Linked DNA regions of Homo sapiens: all the other regions are linked to region 1. The links are contacts of gene promoters, found by promoter capture Hi-C in human tissues and cell types (Jung and others, 2019). All regions are on one chromosome and are shown on one strand. Each heading gives the region's core, a stretch centred on a gene start or on the middle of the fragment in contact. The rest is flanking DNA. Distances are from core to core; before and after follow the strand shown.

Region 1 (3,658 bases), core at 319-2,818:
GACATTCCTTTCCCATTCTGAAGATGAGAGTCTGACAATTTAAGTGATTTGTGAAAAATCATATGATAAGTAGCTGGCAGAACCTGCACTGAGATTCCAAATTTCTGATTTTTTAACTTTGCACTTTTCCTACAATGTCTCACAGCTTCTTGGTGATCCCAGGAGGTCTAACATATCCTGCAGAACTACTCAAAGCTTAAAATATGGGGATATTGTCAGGCTTAGATGCTCATCGAAGGCAGTAACAAGCTTGAGGTAGGTGGACTAACCAAGACTGTCCTGGCAATGATCAAGCAACTTTCTGGGAAGAGCCCAGGGCAGACCCACAAAGTAGAGCTAGATTTGAACTGCTCCACCCTAGAGGAGTATCAGTCAGCCAGTATTCTCCCCAAACACAAGCCCAGTGAATTCATTTCCAAGGATAGGAGAGTTACATTTTGTTGCCTCCCATGTGTTTTGAGGGCTTGGGCCAAAGTGCAAGAATTTATGTAGATAACTTTCATCCAAATCAGTCTACTCAATGCTTGTTAAATAATTCATTCGGTGATGTGGCCAAGCATGCCTGGGTTGGTCCCATCTAGTCCCAATCCTTTTGGGACATAACCTGGCTCTAGGACACTCATCTTAAAGGAGCTAATACAAAACAGAAACCTTATCTCACTCTTGTCTCCGTTTAGACTGGTACTTGTCTAGCCTGACCTCACAGATGCCTCCTTCCATGTTTAAAAGATGCTTTCACTGTATTAGCACACATCACATCCTTCTTGCCTTGTGAAATTTATTTTAACAAAGGTGGGGGAAAAAGAACTCTCCTTTATTGAGCTCCAAATACCTGTCCAACTCTAGGCTAGGCAATTCTAAGAACATGATGATTTCTCAATCTCATGACAATACTGCAAGGTGGTTATTTCACAGACGAGAGAAGAAAAGCTAGAAAGTTAAATGCTCCAAGGTCATACAGATTGGAATCCTAATGGCTCTTCAAATCTCAAGTCCATGATCTTTGCACCCATAAGATGTTGTGAACCCAACGATAAACTTAAGCTTTGAAGACAGAGGTGGGTCTTGTCTTCTTTAGGAGGAGAGGAGAAATCAACCTCTCTCATTTTTTCTTTCCTGTAGGGCTCAGGGATGTGGAAGTTTAAGAGCAACGAAGGCTCCGCAGAGGATGAGGGAAGCTTCCAGAGGGCAGGAAGGAGGTCTGGACAGCCCAGTCTAGCAGGGGCAGAGCTGCGGCAGATGCCTTCCCAACGCACAGACATTGCAGAGTCCTGCTGGTCCCTGCTTTCCCAGGGCAAAGAACTGCCCCCATCCACGGCCCCCTCAACCTCCCTGCAGCCTGACATAAGACACTGGAGGTCACAACTGGAGGCTCAGAAGGCCAGCGAGGAGTTGTGAGCGGCAGACAGAGGGGAAGGCAGGGGGGCCAGGTGGGAGGTGGTCTGGTGCCAGGCTTGGGCCCAGTATGTAAGGGGTTGGGCAGGCCATGTGACTCCAAGGAGGCGGAGACAGGCGAGCTGGAGGGAGGACGAGCAGGCACGGGGAGGGGTTCGGGGGGTGGGGGCCCAATCTGAATAATTGAGGAGCTGTTCAGCAGCAGCGGCTGCCTCCTGCCTTCCTTTGCCGCCACCACCACTTCCCATCCCAGCTAGAGAGACAGCTCCGCGCAGTAAGTGCGGACTGCCAGCCACCAGCCTTGGCAGCCAGCTCGTCGCCTCCAGCCCCGACCCCGGTAAGTGAACGGCCCCCTTCGCTGCCGTTTGTCCCCCTCCGCGCCCCCCGCGCCCCAGCGGGACCCCTGCAACTGGGATGGCCGCCTCTCCCGGAATGACCCAGGGAGCCGGAGTCACCGGGAGCGGGGGACCAGGAATATGGCGCGGAGGCCCAGGGCGCCCTCCGAGAAGGGGTTCCCTGGAAGAACCGAGGAGGTGGGTCGGGCTCTTTCCTGCTCTGGCCCGGAATGAGGCCCCGACTGCCCGCGGTCTGGGGGCACCGGGCTCTGACTCGCGGGAGCTGCCGGGCGGGGCGGGGGCCAGCGCGGCTCCGGCGCCGCTAGAGCGGGAGGCAGAAGGGGAGCCGCGAGCGGAATGCGGGCAGCCTAGGTCTCGGCAGACGCCGGGCCCGTCCTGTCCCCCGCCTTGGCGCGCACCCCGCACGGGCAGCTCCGTTCTCCGCCTCGGACCGAGACCATGAAACGGAGACGCTTTTCCGGCCGCAGACTCCGGGGAGGTCGGGAGCAACGTCTGCCCTTTTACCTGGGAGCAAACTCCTCAAAGGGACTCCCGCCGAGCCCAGCACCCCGACCAGGATGGTGGCGCCCCGAGGGGCGTCTGTCCCCGGAGAGTGGTGACTCTCCCGGGAGCGGCGAAGAGGACGTGACGGGAGCGGTGTCCAGGGAAGCTCCCTGCCCAGAGCCGGCAGCCCCAGCAAGGGGAGCTCTCCTGCACTGCTTCAACCCTCAGTCTCCTCTCTTCTCCCATTCCAAAGCACATCAGCTCCCCTCTAATCCAAGAGGGCCAGGTTAGGGCTGCGTGGCCACGCGGGATGCAGCCCCCACCCTCCTTCTCTCTCCTGTGTCACCCTGCCCCCTCCCCAAATGAGTATTTTATATTGCGATTGAAGAGTGAGCAAAGCAAAGGCGAGAAGAGATGCAGGAAGGCTAGAGCAGCGGGGCTCGCTCCTGTTCTGGCACTCCTCATCCCCCCACCTGTGTGAAGCTCGTTTCCTTGAGATTTTGAGCGGAGACACTCAAAGGAACTGGCTCTGGCGAAGGGATCCCCGCCTGAGTGTCGGTGAACGTCACTGGCCCGAATTGCCCAAGGGCCGCAGGATGTCACCCTGCCTCCCCCTAGGTATAGGGTCTAGGAGAGCGCTGGGGGCAAGGTAGCTCTCCTCCTCCGACTGAGTGCAGGGAATGGCGCTGTCCGCGGTGCTGAAAGTTCTCAGAGGCTGGGTGCTAATACCGCCAGGGCCCACATTCCCTGCGAGCAGAAACTGCGTTAGAACCCTAAAGGGTTCTAAGCAAGCGACCTAGAGAAACAGGAGAAGAAGGGGCTTTGCCTTTCCCGGTTTTCTGCTTCCCCAGGACTCCGCTTGGGAAAAGGTTCCCGGCTTTCCTGAGTGGAAGAGCAGGAAGCGGGTGTCACTTCAGGATCCAGTTTTGCTAACTTCGGGAGCTTCCTCGTTCTACTTCCTATACCTGAGCAGTGAGACTTCCTGTCGGTAAAGTGTTGAAAGGCAGTTAGGGATGCTGTTTTGATAATAAACATTTCTGTGGCTTTCAGGAATCAGAGAATTGTTAGGCTACACAAAGGAGGGGCTTCATGGTTGTAGCTTTTTCCTCTTCTTAGAACCCTTCTTTCCCCACTGCATGTTATTTACATGCTCTAGATAAAGATCGCTAAGCAGCCCTGTATGTTTGTTTCTTTAGCTAGTCTTTTATATTATGGGCAAGATGGGGAAAGGATTGAGCCAATTTGGGGAGGCCTATTTGTACTGAACACCTCTATCTGCTGGGTAATAATATTTCATTTAAACTTCACAATAGCTGCCAACCAAAAGTATCACACAGAGAAGGAAACAGAAACTTGATTCCAGAGATTGGATTCAAAATCAGATCTATTTAACTCAAAGTCCAAGCCATTTTCATGCCTTCATT
Region 2 (3,658 bases), core at 514-3,013, 180 kb before region 1:
CTTCTTATTAGCCTGCAGTATTTTTATGCCTTTTCCTTAAACTTGATGGACATCTGAGGATGACTTGGAAGCTCTCTCTCGGGAATGTCATGCTTAAGACAGACATGGCTTTCCCTCAAATCAAAGATGAGTTGAACAGCTGGCAAAGAAGGTCATTAGCTTTAGAATGGCTACATTTTTTAAATTATTTTTTAAAATTTACCCCTCCGATAGCATCAAGAAGAAAATTTAACATTTCTATGCAAGTCCTGAGCATCCTCTTTGTGCAAAGACAGATGACCACTGGACTGAGACGTTTCTGCCATTGTTTCTGCCTGAGGTCTGAGTCAGAACCCTTCCTCGAGCACCTGCTCTGTGTCCAGGATTCTGCTATACACTTGGTGTAGGGACTCACAGGAAGAAAAGATGCAGCACAGTCCTTCAGCATTCCTGAATGGCCTCTGTACAGGGAGGCTGCTCATGAATGTCCTAAAATATCTGCTCTCAAGTCAATCTTGCCTCCTCCAATCCACTCTCCATACAGCAGCCTGAGTAGCCTTCCAATACCAATCAGATGAGAGTCATTATCCCAGCTGAAACCCTTCAGTGTCTTGCTCTGAGTAACTTGGGATAAAGTCCAGCTTTTCTTTTTCTTTTTTTGAGATGGAGTTTCGCTCTGTCGCCCAGACTGGAGTGCAGTGGTATGATCTCTGCTCACTGCAACCTCCGCATCCCGGGTTCAAGCGATTCTCCTGTCTCAGCCTCTTGAGTAGCTGGGACTACCGGTGCACCCCAACATGCCCGGCTAATTTTTTGGATTTTTAGTAGAGATGGGGTTTCGCCATGTTTGCCAGGTTGGTCTCAAACTCCTGATCTCAGGTGCTTTGTCCGCCTTGACCTCTCAAAGTGCTGGGATTACAGCATGAGGCACCACATCCAGCCAAAGTCCAACATTTTAAATATGATTTATTCCTTGCCTAACCTTTCCAGCTCCATCTCTTACCTCCCGCTTAGAGCTCTGGCTGTGAGCAACATTTTACCTTCCTTAAACACACCTGTCCCCTTGTGCTGAGGCTCATCTCTGAGCCTTTCCATCTGCTGCTTCGGCTGCCTCACATTCCCACCCTCCCTTTCCTGCCCCTCATCGCCTGGAAATCCCCATTCATCCCTAATGTCTCCAGACTAGGTCCTCTTCTATATAGTTCTACACAAGAGTCTTCAACTCAAATACGTTCAGGTGCAAGACTGATAAATCAGACAGGTGAAACTGACTCTATATGAGACAATTCAGAGTAGAGGAGAGTAGCAAATGGTAGAGTGCATCCTTTTCTAAATAGACAGTCATTGTCTCAGCTCCAGGCAAGTGTTGCCATTTGGGACTACAAGCCTACTTTTGCCATCTTTTCTTATTTTTAAAGAGACATTAGAAATCTATATTTTTATTGGAAATGCCTCGATGTTTAACATGCTCTGTGGGCCCAGATGTGGCCTGTTAACCATCCAATGAAATATAGATTTGCTTTAGTTGTCTTCTCTGCAGAGTCTGTTTCTCAAACTGTAGTGAGCACGTCCTCAAAATGCAGAGATTTAGGCCTCACTTTCAGAGGGAGGCAGATTTGGGGGAGGCAGGAAGACAGAGGTGGCAGTCTGTGTTGTTCATTGTTTTATGGTACTTACAATGCCTAGCATGGGATCTAGGGCATAGCGGGTGCTCCAAAAATTACTGGTTGAATAACACATCCTAAGTTGAAGTATCGAACCTGGCCTAGTTCACAAGCTGCTGCCTCTCAAATCACCAAGACTAGTTGGGAATGAGTTGAGAGGAACTGACGCCGGCTACCACCAGCCCTCCCAAATTCCCTCCTATTTTTAGTTTCTGGAATTGAGGTTTATCCAGATATGGTACTGGATGAGGTAAAACCATGAGCATTTAGGGCATTGTATCTTTTTCCCTGACCAATTTAGATTTTTCTAGAATCAGTTGCTGAGGAAAGAGATGAGTAGTTTCACAGACAGGACAGTGAAAATCAGAAGGTGGTCTGCTTGGCAGCCCAGGGAGGGAATTCTAACCTCCTCCTAAGCTTTTCTCTGCTGGGTCCGGATTTCAAGGTGTCTCCATATACATGAGGGCATGTCCACCTGGGTGGTAAAAAATGTCATCTTGCATGGACAGCCTGGAGTCCATCTGGGAAGACTCCCTGCAGTGCACTCCACACTAAAGGTGGGAAAACTACCTCTTGTAAACCAGATTATTTAGTTGTAAGCTATTCTGTGCTTATTTACTTTTAATTTTCATTACAAGGCCTTTAGCACAGTCTTGCTTAAATGTTCCAGCCTTATCTGGAAGGGGAGACACCTCAATATAAGCAGCACCCTTTAGGTGCCAACTGGTGGCAGCAGTAGAGACGGAGCAGTATGGTCCTAGAGTGCTTGTTAGAAATGCACATGCCCAGGCCTCCTGCCCTCCCCTAGACCTGCCTCCTTCTGGGAGTGAGGCCTAAATCTCTGCATTTTGAAGACATGCTCACTACAGTTTAAAAAGCACTGCCTGGCCCAGCGCAGTGGCTCATGCCTATAATCCTAACACTTTGGGAGGCTGAGGCGGGTGGATCACTTGAGGTCAGGAGTTCGAGACAAGCCTGGCCAATATGGCAAAACCCCATCTCTACTAAAAATACAAAAATTAGCAGGGCGTAGTGGCACATACCTGTAATCCCAGCTACTCAGGAGGCTGAGACAGGAGAATCACTTGAACCCGGGAGGTGGAGGTTGCAGTAAGCCGAGATTGCGCCCCTGCACTCCAGCCTGGGTGACAGAGTGAGACCCCATCACAGAAAATAAGTAAATAAATAAATAGCACTACCTAAGGAGAAGAGTAAGGGGAGGTGAATTTTTCCCTCCTTCGTGTCTACCTTGTAACTTTGAGGTTTCATTTTGTCCAGGAAGATGGCAGGTATTTTTTTCTGGGGCAGAGATAATGCTTATTTCCTGAATGTGTCACACGGCATGATCTAATAAAGGCACACTTGGCTAAATGGTCCTAATGATTTGGACCTTTGCGCAAGGCGTCAATTTCAGCTCTGTTGCTCACTTATGCTCTCACCTGAGACTTTGGTGGGCTTATTTTGTCAATAAATATGTGGACCAAGACCCTGTAAGTAGGCCATTTCACAGTCATCCTCTTGTCTGTCTTCCTAGCAGTCAACCGCAGGAACAGACTGTTCAAGTGCATAAAAAGAGACATGTAGTGACACTCAGCAGGGAAGTAGGTCTTTTCTAAATAAGCAGCTTCATTGTTTTCCTGCTCTGTGTGGTGTTTACAGCATGGGAGGCTGACCAGCTCAGTTGACTCAGAAACAGAAAGAAAAATCAGGGAGCTGGGAGCTGGGGAGTTGTCTCAGTCCCTGCCTCACTGTGTGGTCTGTGGTGAAGTCCTCTGCCACCCCCCTCCACCCTGACACCCTGTAACGAGAAGGAAACCACACTACCATGCTCTGTAAGCTGAGGATGATAGGATCATGCATACTGGTTATTCAAAAGCAGTTTGCAAATTCCAGCATGAGATGAGTCTGCTATCTGTGTGTAGAGGTGAGGAAGGAGAGTCTGGACTGTTGCTGAGCCACATGTGCTATTATTGGAACGATGTTATTCCAGAGTCTGACCAGGTTTTAATTCTTGG
Region 3 (3,658 bases), core at 357-2,856, 150 kb after region 1:
CATTTTACACGTGATTGGAGGTCATTGTCTTCACCTAGGTGAAGATTTATTAAAATTCTTCAATAAATTGTAATTGCCAAGTTCTCAGGGGACTCTAATGACAGCAGATAAGATAATCAAGACTGATCCTCTCGATGGTTACTGAGACAGAACCTGTTGTTCCACAGTTGTGCTGTCCAATCCAAAAGCCTCCAGCCACATGTGGCTACTGAACACTTGAAATGTGGCTGGTGTAAATGGAAATGTGCTGCAAGTGTAAAATACACGCTCTTCCAAAGACAATACAAAAACAAGGGCGTGAAATATCTCATCAATTGATTACATATTGAAATGATAATATTTTGGATGTACTGGATCAAATAAAATAAATTAATTTCACTTGTTTATTTTTAGCTTTTGAAATGTGGCTACTGGAAAATTTTAAACAGCTCACATCGTATTCCTAGTGGACAGTACTGTTCTAGAGGCACATCAACCTCTCCTCCATCAAACTGATACTAAACCTAACACTAGAGTTATGACCTCCAAATTGGGATTCCCTCATTAGTCAGGGAATGGTCAGCTAGGAGCGATTTGGGAGTCTCTCTTCTTACACGGAAGGGAAAAGTGGAGCTCATGCAGCAGCCCCCTTATGAGAGAAAACAAGCAGCAGCTCAGGGAAGGAGCGGGCGAGTCAATACATCCATAAGAGAGGAGACCCACTTAATGACACTTCTGACACAAGCTGGTGGTTGTGAGGAAAGGGATCATGGGGTCTGAAGCCTCCTCGTCCACTCCCTCAAACGCTTTTTGCTCCCTTCTGGTTCATAATCGTTATACCTTGACAACTTTTAATGAGGTAGGGAGAGTCCTCCAATGTAGTCACATGACTTTTATCCTTACAAAAGCTATATTATAATAGCTAAGCAAATATTTTAGTTAACATAAAAATTGTCTTCTATGGCCAGGCACGGTGGCTCACGCCTATAATTCCAACACTTCGGAAGGCTGATGCAGGAGGATCACTTGAAGCCAGGAGTTCCAGACCACCCCGGCCAACATGGCAAAACCCTGTCTCCACTAAAAATACAAAAATTAGCCAGGTGTGGTGGCACATACCTGTAGTCCCAGCTACTTGGGAGGCTGAGGCACAAGAATCGCTTGAACCCAAGGGGCGGAGGTTGCAGAGAGCCGAGATCGCACCACTGCTCTCCAGCCTGGGCAACAGACCGAGACTTCTTCTCAAAAAAACAAACAAAAAAAAGATTATCTTTTATGTATAAGTAATTTAGAAATGCTCTCCAACAGGTTATAATCAAAACTACACAAATTTCTGCAAAATGGCTAGCCCAAATTGGTATTTCCAAAGAGGAAATGTTTGCCAATTACTATACTATCAGCTAATGAAATTAGTATTTTATTTGAAAGAAGTCTGCCAAAATAGATTGCAATGTGTTTTCTTAGACCAGGCCCGTAACTTGATGAAGTTTCTGGAACAGAAAAACAAATAAAAATCAACTCAATGTGTCTTTGTCCAAAATGTCCAAACAGCTACATATGTATGTTTGAACGAAATGTATTTAGATATTATTACTTAAAGATCCAATAAAATAGGTTTCGTTAATTCTCTTTTTATACCTAGCCAATCAATTCCTTTACTAAGTGTTAGAAGTAGATGAAGGACATTAACTGCATAATGCTGAGAACTTTGTTTCTGATTGCTGCCCATTGATCGATGATTAAAGATGCCATAAAGTCACCCCACTTAAGAAACCTAGAGAGCACTGAGGTTATGCTTTCATGACCACAAATTACCACTGCAATACCGTGAATAAAATATAACTTTTTAATTATTCAAGGCAATGCAGAATTACTTGTTCTTGAATCACTGATCAGATTCCCTATAAATTACCAGTAGAGATTAATGAGATTTTTTTAAATCAATAATGATACCTCTGGATACAACAGAAGATTGAAGGCCAGTTTTGCAGACAGTCTGTTATTTTATTGCACAGATTTCACTTCAAGAATAAAATGCACCATCAGTATTTGGAGAGTTTGGGGTCTCAGATACTGATATACCATCAGTGTTTACACCCGTAAAGCCAAATTCAACAGTACAATTTATGTTAAACAACATCACTTCAAGATGGCTAACAATACAAATAGAGAGAAAAGTGGGGGAAAGCTTTAAAAATGTGTTAGTTTGAAGCATATGAAAATGTACGATTAAAAACTACATCATACAAACCTGAAATCAAAAATGTTTTGTGGAACATCAGTTAGAGTTATACTCACTTGCACTGTTATTTATTGCATAAAGTCTATGTGGTTCATTTCCTTCATATTGATGAATTGAGGATTTCAGGAAAACCATGGTTATAAAAATGATCAATCTTGAAAAAGTATGTACAGATAAATGTAAAATCACAAACTAAAAAATATCCCTACCCCTGGCCCTCAACTTACAAAAGGGAAAGTTTCCCATGGAAAGTTCGTTCCACTATTGCCCTCCCTCCCCCATCCCATGTCCCCAATGCTATCTTTTTCTGTCTCGTACAAGTAAATGACCTTGAAGGGAAGAAACAAAAGCCATCTTTATGAGGCTCCCATTGTCATCTGTATCAGTTTGAAAAGCATCTTGGCCGGTGTGGTGGCTCACTCCTATAATCCCAACACTTTGGGAGGCCGAGGCGGGAGGATACTTTGAGTCCAGGAGTTCGAGACCAACCTGGGCAACATAGGGAGCCCTCATCTCTATAAAAAACTTAAAAATTAGCTGGGTGTAGTAGTGAACGCCTGTAGTCCCAGCTACTTGGGAGGCTGAGGCAGGAGGATCACTTGAGCCGGGGAGGTTGAGGCTACATGAGCCGAGATCACACCACCGCACTCCAGCCTGAGCAACAGAGTGAGGCCCTATTTAAAAAAAAAAAAAAAAAAAAAAAAAAAAAAGTATCTTGTATTTCTCTTCCCCACCCCCACCTAACTCAGTGATGTTTGCAAAACATTTGAAATTTAAAGAAACAAAATATATATAATATATTTTTAATAAACAGCAAAAGAATGCCCAAGAAAAGAGCTAATAGGGGCAACACCAAGGGAAAAAAATGTCTGGGCATTATCTGAGCTAGAGATTTCTTTTAAGGCAACCAAAAGATGGGGGAAATGGGGAGAAGTTAAGACTACAAAATGCCAGACAGGATGCTTTTCTAGACCTTTGGCTTTAGAGCCTGGCAGAGGAATGGGCTTCCCCACACTGTGACGAGCAAACCTAGGGCCCTGGGCCCAGCATCTACAGCACCTCTGTGGGCAGCCGGGCAGCCCTCTTATACGTGGGCACTCTTCGCATGAGTCGGGGAGCTAGAGCCCGCAGTGTAGTAGAAACGGTTTTCACCAAAGGCCTGGGCATCTCCAGCGCAGCAGAGGATGACACAGCCACCCACGAGGCACAGCACAGCACCAATCCAGCCTGCATACAGGGAGTAGCCAAAGCTCACGATGGTGGTCTCACGGTGGGCGCACACAGGGAACCAGATGGTGGCAACAAGGGCGCAGAGAGCTGGAGAGACATGGAGAGGCGGTGACTGGGCGCAACCATCACACACCAAGCACTTGGGCAGGCCCACTCACTCCACATACACACACTTGTGGCTTCCAACCAGCTCCAAAAAGCTCCATA

The links. The method cuts DNA at HindIII sites, captures the fragments that hold promoters and counts their contacts. A contact is called where the count stands out against the background at its distance.
Region 2: a contact is called between a fragment that was not itself captured here and the fragment with the promoter of SLC7A14 in region 1, in 2 of the 25 tissues and cell types used here (H1 embryonic stem cells and pancreas).
Region 3: a fragment that was not itself captured here is called in contact with the fragment with the promoter of SLC7A14 in region 1 in 3 of the 25 tissues and cell types used here (mesenchymal stem cells, psoas muscle and thymus).

The regions. Positions count from the first base shown.
Region 1 is chr3:170,583,985-170,587,642 of GRCh38, reverse strand. SLC7A14 (solute carrier family 7 member 14) reads left to right here and starts at 1,568. Exons shown (of 8, transcript NM_020949.3): 1 at 1,568-1,732. The region is part of intron 2 of SLC7A14-AS1 (SLC7A14 antisense RNA 1); the gene reads right to left. RefSeq lists a silencer at 2,789-3,083. The HindIII fragment of the contact is 10,108 bases long and covers 648-3,658 here.
Region 2 is chr3:170,768,350-170,772,007 of GRCh38, reverse strand. It overlaps LOC105374211 (a long non-coding RNA gene), which reads right to left. Exons shown (of 3, transcript XR_924701.2): 1 at 3,083-3,658; 2 at 1-139. Among named protein-coding and RNA genes, the nearest start is that of RPL22L1, 100 kb to the left of the region's middle. The HindIII fragment of the contact is 5,790 bases long and covers 1-3,658 here.
Region 3 is chr3:170,432,404-170,436,061 of GRCh38, reverse strand. CLDN11 (claudin 11) reads right to left here. Exons shown (of 3, transcript NM_005602.6): 3 at 1,371-3,538. The coding sequence ends at 3,306. Among named protein-coding and RNA genes, the nearest start is that of MIR6828, 11 kb to the right of the region's middle. The HindIII fragment of the contact is 3,764 bases long and covers 1-3,488 here.